Linked DNA regions of Homo sapiens: all the other regions are linked to region 3. Evidence: promoter capture Hi-C in human tissues and cell types (Jung and others, 2019). All regions are on one chromosome and are shown on one strand. Each heading gives the region's core, a stretch centred on a gene start or on the middle of the fragment in contact. The rest is flanking DNA. Distances are from core to core; before and after follow the strand shown.

Region 1 (2,700 bases), core at 27-2,526, 83 kb after region 3:
TGTGCCACTGCACTCCAGCCTGGGTAACAGAGTGAGAATCCGTCTAAAAAAAAAATTTACCCGGGCATGGTGGCAGGCACCTGTAGTCCCAGCTACTTGGGAGGCTGAGACAGGAGAATTGCTTGACCCCAGGCGGCGGATGTTGCAGTGAGCTGAGATCGTGCCACTGCACTCCGGCCCAGGTGACAGAGCAAAACTGTTTAAAAAAAAAAAAAAAAAATTACATAATTCAGACAAAAAAAATAAGGATTTGTACTACAATAATGTTCATTAAGCAATAAAAAAATAAACTCTGGCTAGGTAAAAGAGAAGAAAAAAAATGTTATAAAAGCAGTCCAACCTCCGTACCTGTGATTGTTCCATGGACCTGTGTTCCGTTCTTCAATTCAATGGTTACAGTTTCATGACTCAATTTCATCAAAAATCTATAAATAGGAATAAAACCATTTTTACCTGTAACACTTTAAAATCACATTTATTAAGGTGAAAGGGTGAAACAACTCGATGTTGAAAATTTGCTAGATGCTATCTGCATCAATTCCTATCAATAATCTGCATAACAATTTCAGCTTTCCTGAATTATATCCTCAACCTTTATGAAGGAACACAACAATACTAACATAAACTGTCATTTGGACGTTTCTAATTCTCAAACCTGAAATCCAGACATACAAGATCTTAGACTCATTATAAACCATGAAAAAGAAATAGGCCAGGCGTGGTGGCTCACGCCTATAATTCCAGCAGTTTGGGAGGCCAAGGCGGGCGGATCACGAGGTCAGGAGATCGAGATCATCCTGGCTAACATGGTGAAACCCCGTCTCTACTAAAAAATACAAAAAATTAGCTGGGCATGGTGGCGGGCACCTGTAGTCCCAGCTACTCGGGAGGCTGAGGCAGGAGAATGGGGTGAACCTGGGAAGCAGAGCTCTCAGTGAGCCGAGATCACGCCACTGCACTCCAGCCTGGGCAACAGAGCGAGACTCCGTCTCAAAAAAAAAAAAAGAAATAAAGAATTACAGTCGGTAAAAAGATTACAAGCTTATTATAATGCCTATAAAGTAAAAATCTCCCTTCCTAACCCCCTGCACTGTGGGTATGTAGGAATATTATTCCAGATCACTTTATATGCATTCAGAAGGATATATACAGATTTCTTTTGACATAAATTGGGTCATATTTTATTCACGTCTATAACTTGTAGTCCTCGTTTAGCAGTTTATATTGGACATATTTCCATTTCAACATACAAAACATTCTAAGAACTGAGGCTGGGCGTGATGGCTCATGCCTATTTATAATCCCAGCACTTTGGGAGGCCGAGGAGGGCGGATCATCTGAGGTCAGGAATTCAAGACCAGCCTGGCCAACATGGTGAAACTCCATCTCTACAAAAACACAAAAATTAGCTGGGCAGGATGGCGTACGCCTGTAATCCTAGCTACTCAGAAGGCTGAGGCAGGAGAATCGCTTAAACCTGGGAGGCAGAGATTGCAGTCAGCCAAGATCGCACCACTGCACTCCAACCTGGGGACAGAGCAAGACTCCATCTCAAAAAAAATTAAAAAAAAATAAAAATAAATTAGCGAGGCAAGGTGGCGCACGCCTGTAATCCCAGCTACTTGGAAGGCTGGGGCATGAGAATCGCTTGAACCCGGGAGGCAGCATTTGCAGTGAGGTGAGATTGTTCCACTGTACCCCAGCCTGAGTGACAGGGCAAGACTCCATCTCACAAAAAGCCAAAATAACAAAATAACATTCTAAGAACTGGAAAGTATTCCACTATATGGAAATGTCAAAATTTATTACCGCCTGTTGACGGACATTACTTTGGTTCAATTTTTTCCCATTACAAACCCAATTATGCAAACCCTCACCAACACAAGTTGCTATAAGTCTTTCAAATTTTTGTCAATTTGATGGGGAAAAAATTTGCTTTTCCTTAATTACCTGTGAGATTGAATATCTTATCTTTTTTTTTTGACACAGAGTCTCGCTCTGTCACCCAGGCTGGAGTGTAGTGGCACAATCTCGGCTCACTGCAACCTCCGCCTCCTAGGTTCACGCCATTCTCCTGCCTCAGCCTCCCGAGTAGCTGGGATTACAGGCGCTCGCCACCACACCTGGCTAATTTTTTGTATTTTTTTTTTAGTAGAGACGGGGTTTCACCATGTTAACCACGATGGCCTTGATCTTCTGACCTCGTGATCCACCCGCCTCGGCCTCCCAAAGTGCTGGGATTACAGGCATGAGCCACCGCGCCCTGCCTGAATATCTTTTCATTAACATGGGAAAACTATTTCTTCCGTGAATTACCTGTTCACATTATTGACATTCTCAATTAGGTTGAGTTTTTCTTTTATTTTCTACTGGTTTGCCAGTCATTCAAGTTTGTTGTTTATGGTTTCTTTAGTCACACAAACTTTTTTCACTTTTATGTTTTGAATTTGTTCACCCTCCTGGGATACATAATTTACCTAAGAAAGGGTTTTTTCTATGCCAAGATTGTAAAAAAATAGTGTCTTATTTTCTTCTACTTTTAGAGTTCTAATCTACTTGGAATTGATCTTTTTTATGCAGTGTAAGGCACAAATCTGTCTTTATTACTTTCCCCAACTGAATAGCCAGTTGCCTTGATAATATATAATGAACAATCTATCCACTTCTCACTTCATCTAAATTTCCGTTCTCCCCTTTTTA
Region 2 (2,700 bases), core at 25-2,524, 78 kb before region 3:
ATGAATGTAAATGAACTAATTCTCCAACTAGAAGACATAGAGTGAGGCCGGGCACAGCGGCTCACACCTGTAATCCCAGTACTTTGGGAGGCTGAGGCGGGAGGACCACCTGAGGTCAGGAGTTAGAGACCAGCCTGACTAATATGGTGAAACCCCATCTCTACTAAAAATACAAAAATTAGCTGGGCTTGGTGGAGGGCACCTGTAGTCCCAGCTACTCGGAAGGCTGAGACAGGAGAATTGCTTGAACCCGGGAGGCGGAGGTTGCAGTGAGCCAATATCGTCCCACTGCACTCCAGCCTGGGCGACAGAGTAAGATTCCATCTCAAGAAAAAAAAAAAAAGGCATAGAGTGGCTGAATGGGTAAAAGAAAATTGTTTAAATGACCCAACCCTGTGCTCCCTACAAGAAATTCATTTCACCTATAAAGACACATGCAGACTGAAAGTGAAGGGATGGAAAAAGATATTGCACACAAATGGAAACCAAAAAAGAGCAGGAATAATTATACTTTTATATCAGATAAAATAGACTTTAAGTTAAAGACTGTAAAAACAGACAAAAGTCACTGTATAATAATAAAGTGGTCAATTCAGCAAAAGGATATAACAATTATATATGCACTCAACACTGGAGCAACCAAATATAAAACACAAACATCAATAGATCTAAAGGGAAAGATACACTGCAATATCTTTAACAGTAGGGGACATTTCAACATTTAACTTTCAGTAATGAACAGATCATCAACTAGAGAGAAAATCAACAAAGAAACATCAAAGTTAAACTACAATCCAAACCAAATATACATAATTGACACTTACAGAATACTTCATCCAACTGCCATAGAATACACACTGTTCTCATCAGCACGAGGAACATTCTCCAAAAGAGACCACATATTGGGCCACAAAACAAGTCTCACTAAATTCAAAAAAGTTGAAATGGTATAAAGTATCTTTTCTGACCACAATGCAATAACACTAGAAAGAAATTAAACATTATCCTGAACAATGAAAGCGTCAATAAAGAAATTAAGAAGGAAATTTTAAAATTTCTTGAAACAAATGAAAATGGAAACACAACATATCAAAATCCATGAAATACAGAAAAAGCAGTAGTAAGAGGGATATCTATAGCAATAAACACCTGATCAATAATTTAACGCCAGATGCAGTGGTTCATGCCTATAATCCCAGTACTTTGGGAGGCCAAGGTGGGCGGATCACGGGAGGTCAGGAGTTCAAGACCAGCCTGACCAACATGGAGAAACCCCATCTCTACTAAAAATACAAAATTAGCTGGGCGTGGTGGCACATGACTGTAATCCCAGCTACTCGGGAAGGCTGAGGCAGGAGAACCGTTTGAACCCAGAAGGCAGAGGTTGCAGTGAGCTGAGATCGCGCCATTGCACTCCAGCCTGGGCAACAAGAGCGAAACTTCGTCTCAAAAAAATAATAATAATAATTTAAAAAGTAGGAAGATTTCAAATAACCTAACAATACAGCTCAAGGAACTAGAAAAGCAAAAACAAAGCAAATCCAATAGTAGAAGGAAGAAGTAATAAAGATCAGCAGAAATAAATGAAATTGAGACAATAAAAAGAGAAAATATCAACAAAATGAAAAGCTGGATTTTTCAAAAGATAAACAAAATCAACAAATCTTTAGGTAGACCAACTAAGATAAAACCAGAAGACCCAAATAAAATCAGAAACAAAAATGGGGACATAAATGATACCACAGAAATGTAAAGGATCATGACAGAATATCATGAACATCTATATACCAACAAATTGAAAAATCTAGAAGAAATAGATAAATTATTGGACATAAACAACCTACCAAGATTGAGACATGAAGAAGTATCAACCCTGGCCAGGGGCGGTGGCTCACCTGTAATCTCAGCACTTTGGGAGGCCAAGGTGGGCGGATCACTTGAGGTCAGGGGTTCAAGATCAGCCTGGCCAACATGGTGAAACCCCATCTCTATTAAAAAATACAAAATTTAGCTGGGTGTGGTGGCACATGCCCATAATCCCAGCTACTTGGGAGGCTGAGGCAAGAGAATCATTTGAACCTGGGAGACGGAGGTTGCAATGAGCTGACATCGTGCCACTCCAGCCTGGGTGACAGAGGGAGACCCCATCTCAAAAAATAATAATAATAATTTTATATATATATATATATATATATATATATATATATATATATATATATATAACTTGAACAGACCAATAATGAGTAACAAGATCAAAGAAGTAATAAAAATATCTCCCATCAGAGAAAAGCCCCAGGGCCTGATGGTTTCAATGCCAGATTCTACCAAACATTTAAAGAACAAATATCAATCCTCTCAAACTACTGTTGCTTTTACTGGCCAGTCGAGGTGGCTCAAGCCCCCAGCACTTTGGGAGGTCAAAGTGGGAGGATCACTTGAGGCCAGGGGTTCAGCGCCAGCCTGGGCAATATGGCAAGACCCTATCTCTACTATAAAAAAAGTTTTTAATTTAAATTTTTAAAAAGAGAAAAAAAGAAAATGGCTTTTCGGATGCTGACAAGAACACACGAAAAGGGGAACACCTGTAGACTGTTGGTGGGACTTTAAATTAGTACAGCCACTATGAGAAACAGTATGGAGGTTCCTCAAAAAACTAAAAACAGAACTACCATATGATCCAGTAATCCCATTGCTGGGTGT
Region 3 (2,700 bases), core at 183-2,682:
GGAGGCTGAGGCAGGAGAATCACGTGAACCCGGGAGGTGGAGGTTGCAGTGACCCGAGATCTCGCCATTGCACTCCAGCCTGGGCAACAAGAGCAAAACTCTGTCTCAAAAAACAAAACAAAACAAAACAGAACAAACTTAAACTGAAATACGCATGCATTTATTGGTAGGTAGTGCAGAAGGCTGGTGCAGGGGTTATGAAGAATGCTATGAAGTTTCAAGTATGGCAACCAGCATATGCATTCACGTTTGCTATGTGTGCTCAGGTGTGAGAGCCAGAGCGTGAAAATTACTTCTGCTCACGGGGAGTCCAGTATATACACTATCTTGTCCTCTCGGGAACTCTATAAAGTAGAAATTGTTACGCTACAGATTATTAAAACAAGAAAAAAACAGGCTCAGTAAAGGTAATTGAATTATTTTGGGTGCTGCAGCCAACCACCAAGTTGCAATGACCAAATCGGAGCCAAATAAATTGCTCACTTCTGGTCCGTCTCATGTCCCCATCTAAATTACATCATTAATTTACAATCCTTTGGCATTTTTCATAATCTAGACAGCACTTTCCCTTCTTTCGTCTGTTTAAGTCTTGCCATTCTTCCTACCTCTCTGAGGAAGGAGTTCATAAGAGTAGGAATAGGCTATTAAATTCTAACCATTTCAGATAACCATAAGTATCCTGATTTATCATATTGCCATAAATAAGCCTAGGAGACCCTACTTCATAAATGGTTTCTTGTCTGTACATTAGGTAATCGGTGTGAATTTCCATAAGTCTCTAAATTCAAAGCATTAATGAACCACAAATAGGCTTTTAACAATTGAATCCCGGTTGCTATTCTTGACCTTTTCATTTATTTTCAGAGACCACTTCTCATTTAAGTGACACTTAGCAACTAAAAAGATTCACAGAGTGATTCAGAGTCGAGTATGATGTCCTCACTGTTGAATGCTCATAGAATATTTTTTCTCTTTCCATAGTCTTGAGGACCAACGCAAACGTCTAGAGGATGTGGGATTCTTACCTGCTAACATATCTTTGGCATTAACTCCCCAAATCTTTGAATGCAAGGCACGCTTACCTGACACCCTAAACTGCTAGTTTAGGGACACCCGCCGCAGAGCGGAATCGTTCAAGGTCACTGGGGCTGCAGGTGCGGGGCCTTAACCAGCGCTGCCGATCCGTCAGCTCTCGGCCCACCCTTGGGGATCCCCATCGCCCACTGCGACCTAGCTGGGAGAACCCAGTCCGCCCGCCCTCCCGGTGGCCGGTCTTGGAACCGCGCTTCTGGAAGGTTCCTGAGTGGCTGGCAGTGGGGGCGGCTCCAGGAAGCCGGGGCGGAGCGGGCGGCGTTGGAGTCTCGGGCTACGCCTCCCTGGGCCGCTCCGCCCCGCCCGTTGTCGGAAGCCGCGCTCCGCCAGGCAGGAGACACTGTGGTCGGGAGTAGGCAGCGGCGCCGCGTCCGCTCTCGCCCGCTCTCGCCCGCTCGCCAGCCGGCTCTCCTCCCGCCGCAGGACCCGCGCGCCGCGCTCGGGGGCCATGCAGCGCCTGGCCATGGACCTGCGGATGTTGTCCCGGGAGCTCTCCCTCTACCTGGAACACCAAGTCCGGGTGGGGTTCTTCGGCTCGGGGGTGGGCTTATCCCTTATCCTGGGCTTCAGCGTCGCTTATGCCTTCTACTACCTGAGCAGCATTGCCAAGGTGAGCCGGGGGTGGCGCAGGGCCGCGGGCTGCTGGGCCAGGAGCTAGGGTAGCAGGCGCGGCGCGAGGCTGCGCGGCCAGGGGCGGTCGGCAGCCCCGGGGATAGGCGGCGAGCTGCTCCCGAGCGGCAGCCCCCAGCGCGCGCGGGAAAGCCAACAGGCCCCGCCCGTTCGCCCGCCCCCTGGGGGTCCCGGCCGGGTGGTCCTCGGAGCGCAGCCTGAACCCGGCTGACTTCTGCGCTGCGGCGCTGCCCGGTCACCGATCGCGAAGCCGGCGGCGCACTCGGGAACGCCGTGGCGCTTTTGAAAATGACTCCGGGCAGGGCACGGTGGCTCACGCCTGTAATCTCAGCACTTTGGGAGCCCGAGGCGGGTGGATCACCTGAGGTCAAGAGTTCGAGACCAGCCTGACCAAAATGGTGAAACCCCGTTACAATTACAAAAAATTAGCCGGGCGTGGTGGCGGACGCCTGCAATCCCAGCTACTCGGGAGGCTGAGGCAGGAGAATCCCCTGAACCCGGGAGGCGGAGTTAAAAACAAACAAACTCCCTTATCGCGATTCTCGCCTTCCCCTCGGGGCATTGGCGAAACCCCCGTTTCAGTCCTCTGTGACTGTGAATTTTTTGCGTCAGCCCTCCAGAAAGAGTTGTAATCGGAGGAAGCGCGCGCGCGAGCGACAAGTCTTTGCCGGTTTCTGGTTTACGGTTGGCAGAAACTTTGCTCTGGGCCCTTCTCTGATACTGCTTTTCCCTTCAGAAACCCCAGTTAGTGACCGGGGGTGAGAGTTTCAGCCGCTTCCTTCAAGACCACTGTCCCGTGGTTACAGAAACGTACTACCCGACGGTCTGGTGCTGGGAGGGTCGAGGACAGACCCTGCTTAGACCTTTCATCACTTCGAAGCCCCCGGTGCAGTACAGGAAGTAAGTGAATTTCCGTTTTCAGTCATTTCTGCAAAATCACAGGTTGTTTGTTTGCTTGCTTGCTTATTCCCAGTTCTT

The links. The method cuts DNA at HindIII sites, captures the fragments that hold promoters and counts their contacts. A contact is called where the count stands out against the background at its distance.
Region 1: a contact is called between a fragment that was not itself captured here and the fragment with the promoter of ABHD3 in region 3, in 2 of the 25 tissues and cell types used here (small bowel and thymus).
Region 2: a contact is called between a fragment that was not itself captured here and the fragment with the promoter of ABHD3 in region 3, in 2 of the 25 tissues and cell types used here (H1 embryonic stem cells and lymphoblastoid cells).

The regions. Positions count from the first base shown.
Region 1 is chr18:21,620,450-21,623,149 of GRCh38, reverse strand. It overlaps SNRPD1 (small nuclear ribonucleoprotein D1 polypeptide), which reads right to left. Exons shown (of 4, transcript NM_006938.4): 2 at 349-425. Among named protein-coding and RNA genes, the nearest start is that of SNRPD1, 9.5 kb to the right of the region's middle. The HindIII fragment of the contact is 8,700 bases long and covers 1-2,700 here.
Region 2 is chr18:21,780,888-21,783,587 of GRCh38, reverse strand. All of the region lies in intron 6 of MIB1 (MIB E3 ubiquitin protein ligase 1), which reads right to left. Among named protein-coding and RNA genes, the nearest start is that of MIB1, 41 kb to the right of the region's middle. The HindIII fragment of the contact is 6,307 bases long and covers 1-2,700 here.
Region 3 is chr18:21,703,506-21,706,205 of GRCh38, reverse strand. ABHD3 (abhydrolase domain containing 3, phospholipase) reads left to right here and starts at 1,432. Exons shown (of 9, transcript NM_138340.5): 1 at 1,432-1,702; 2 at 2,459-2,622. The coding sequence starts at 1,541. It also overlaps a transcript of MIB1 not described here. RefSeq lists enhancers at 1,025-1,094, 2,555-2,700 and a silencer at 1,265-2,034. The HindIII fragment of the contact is 17,143 bases long and covers 1-2,700 here.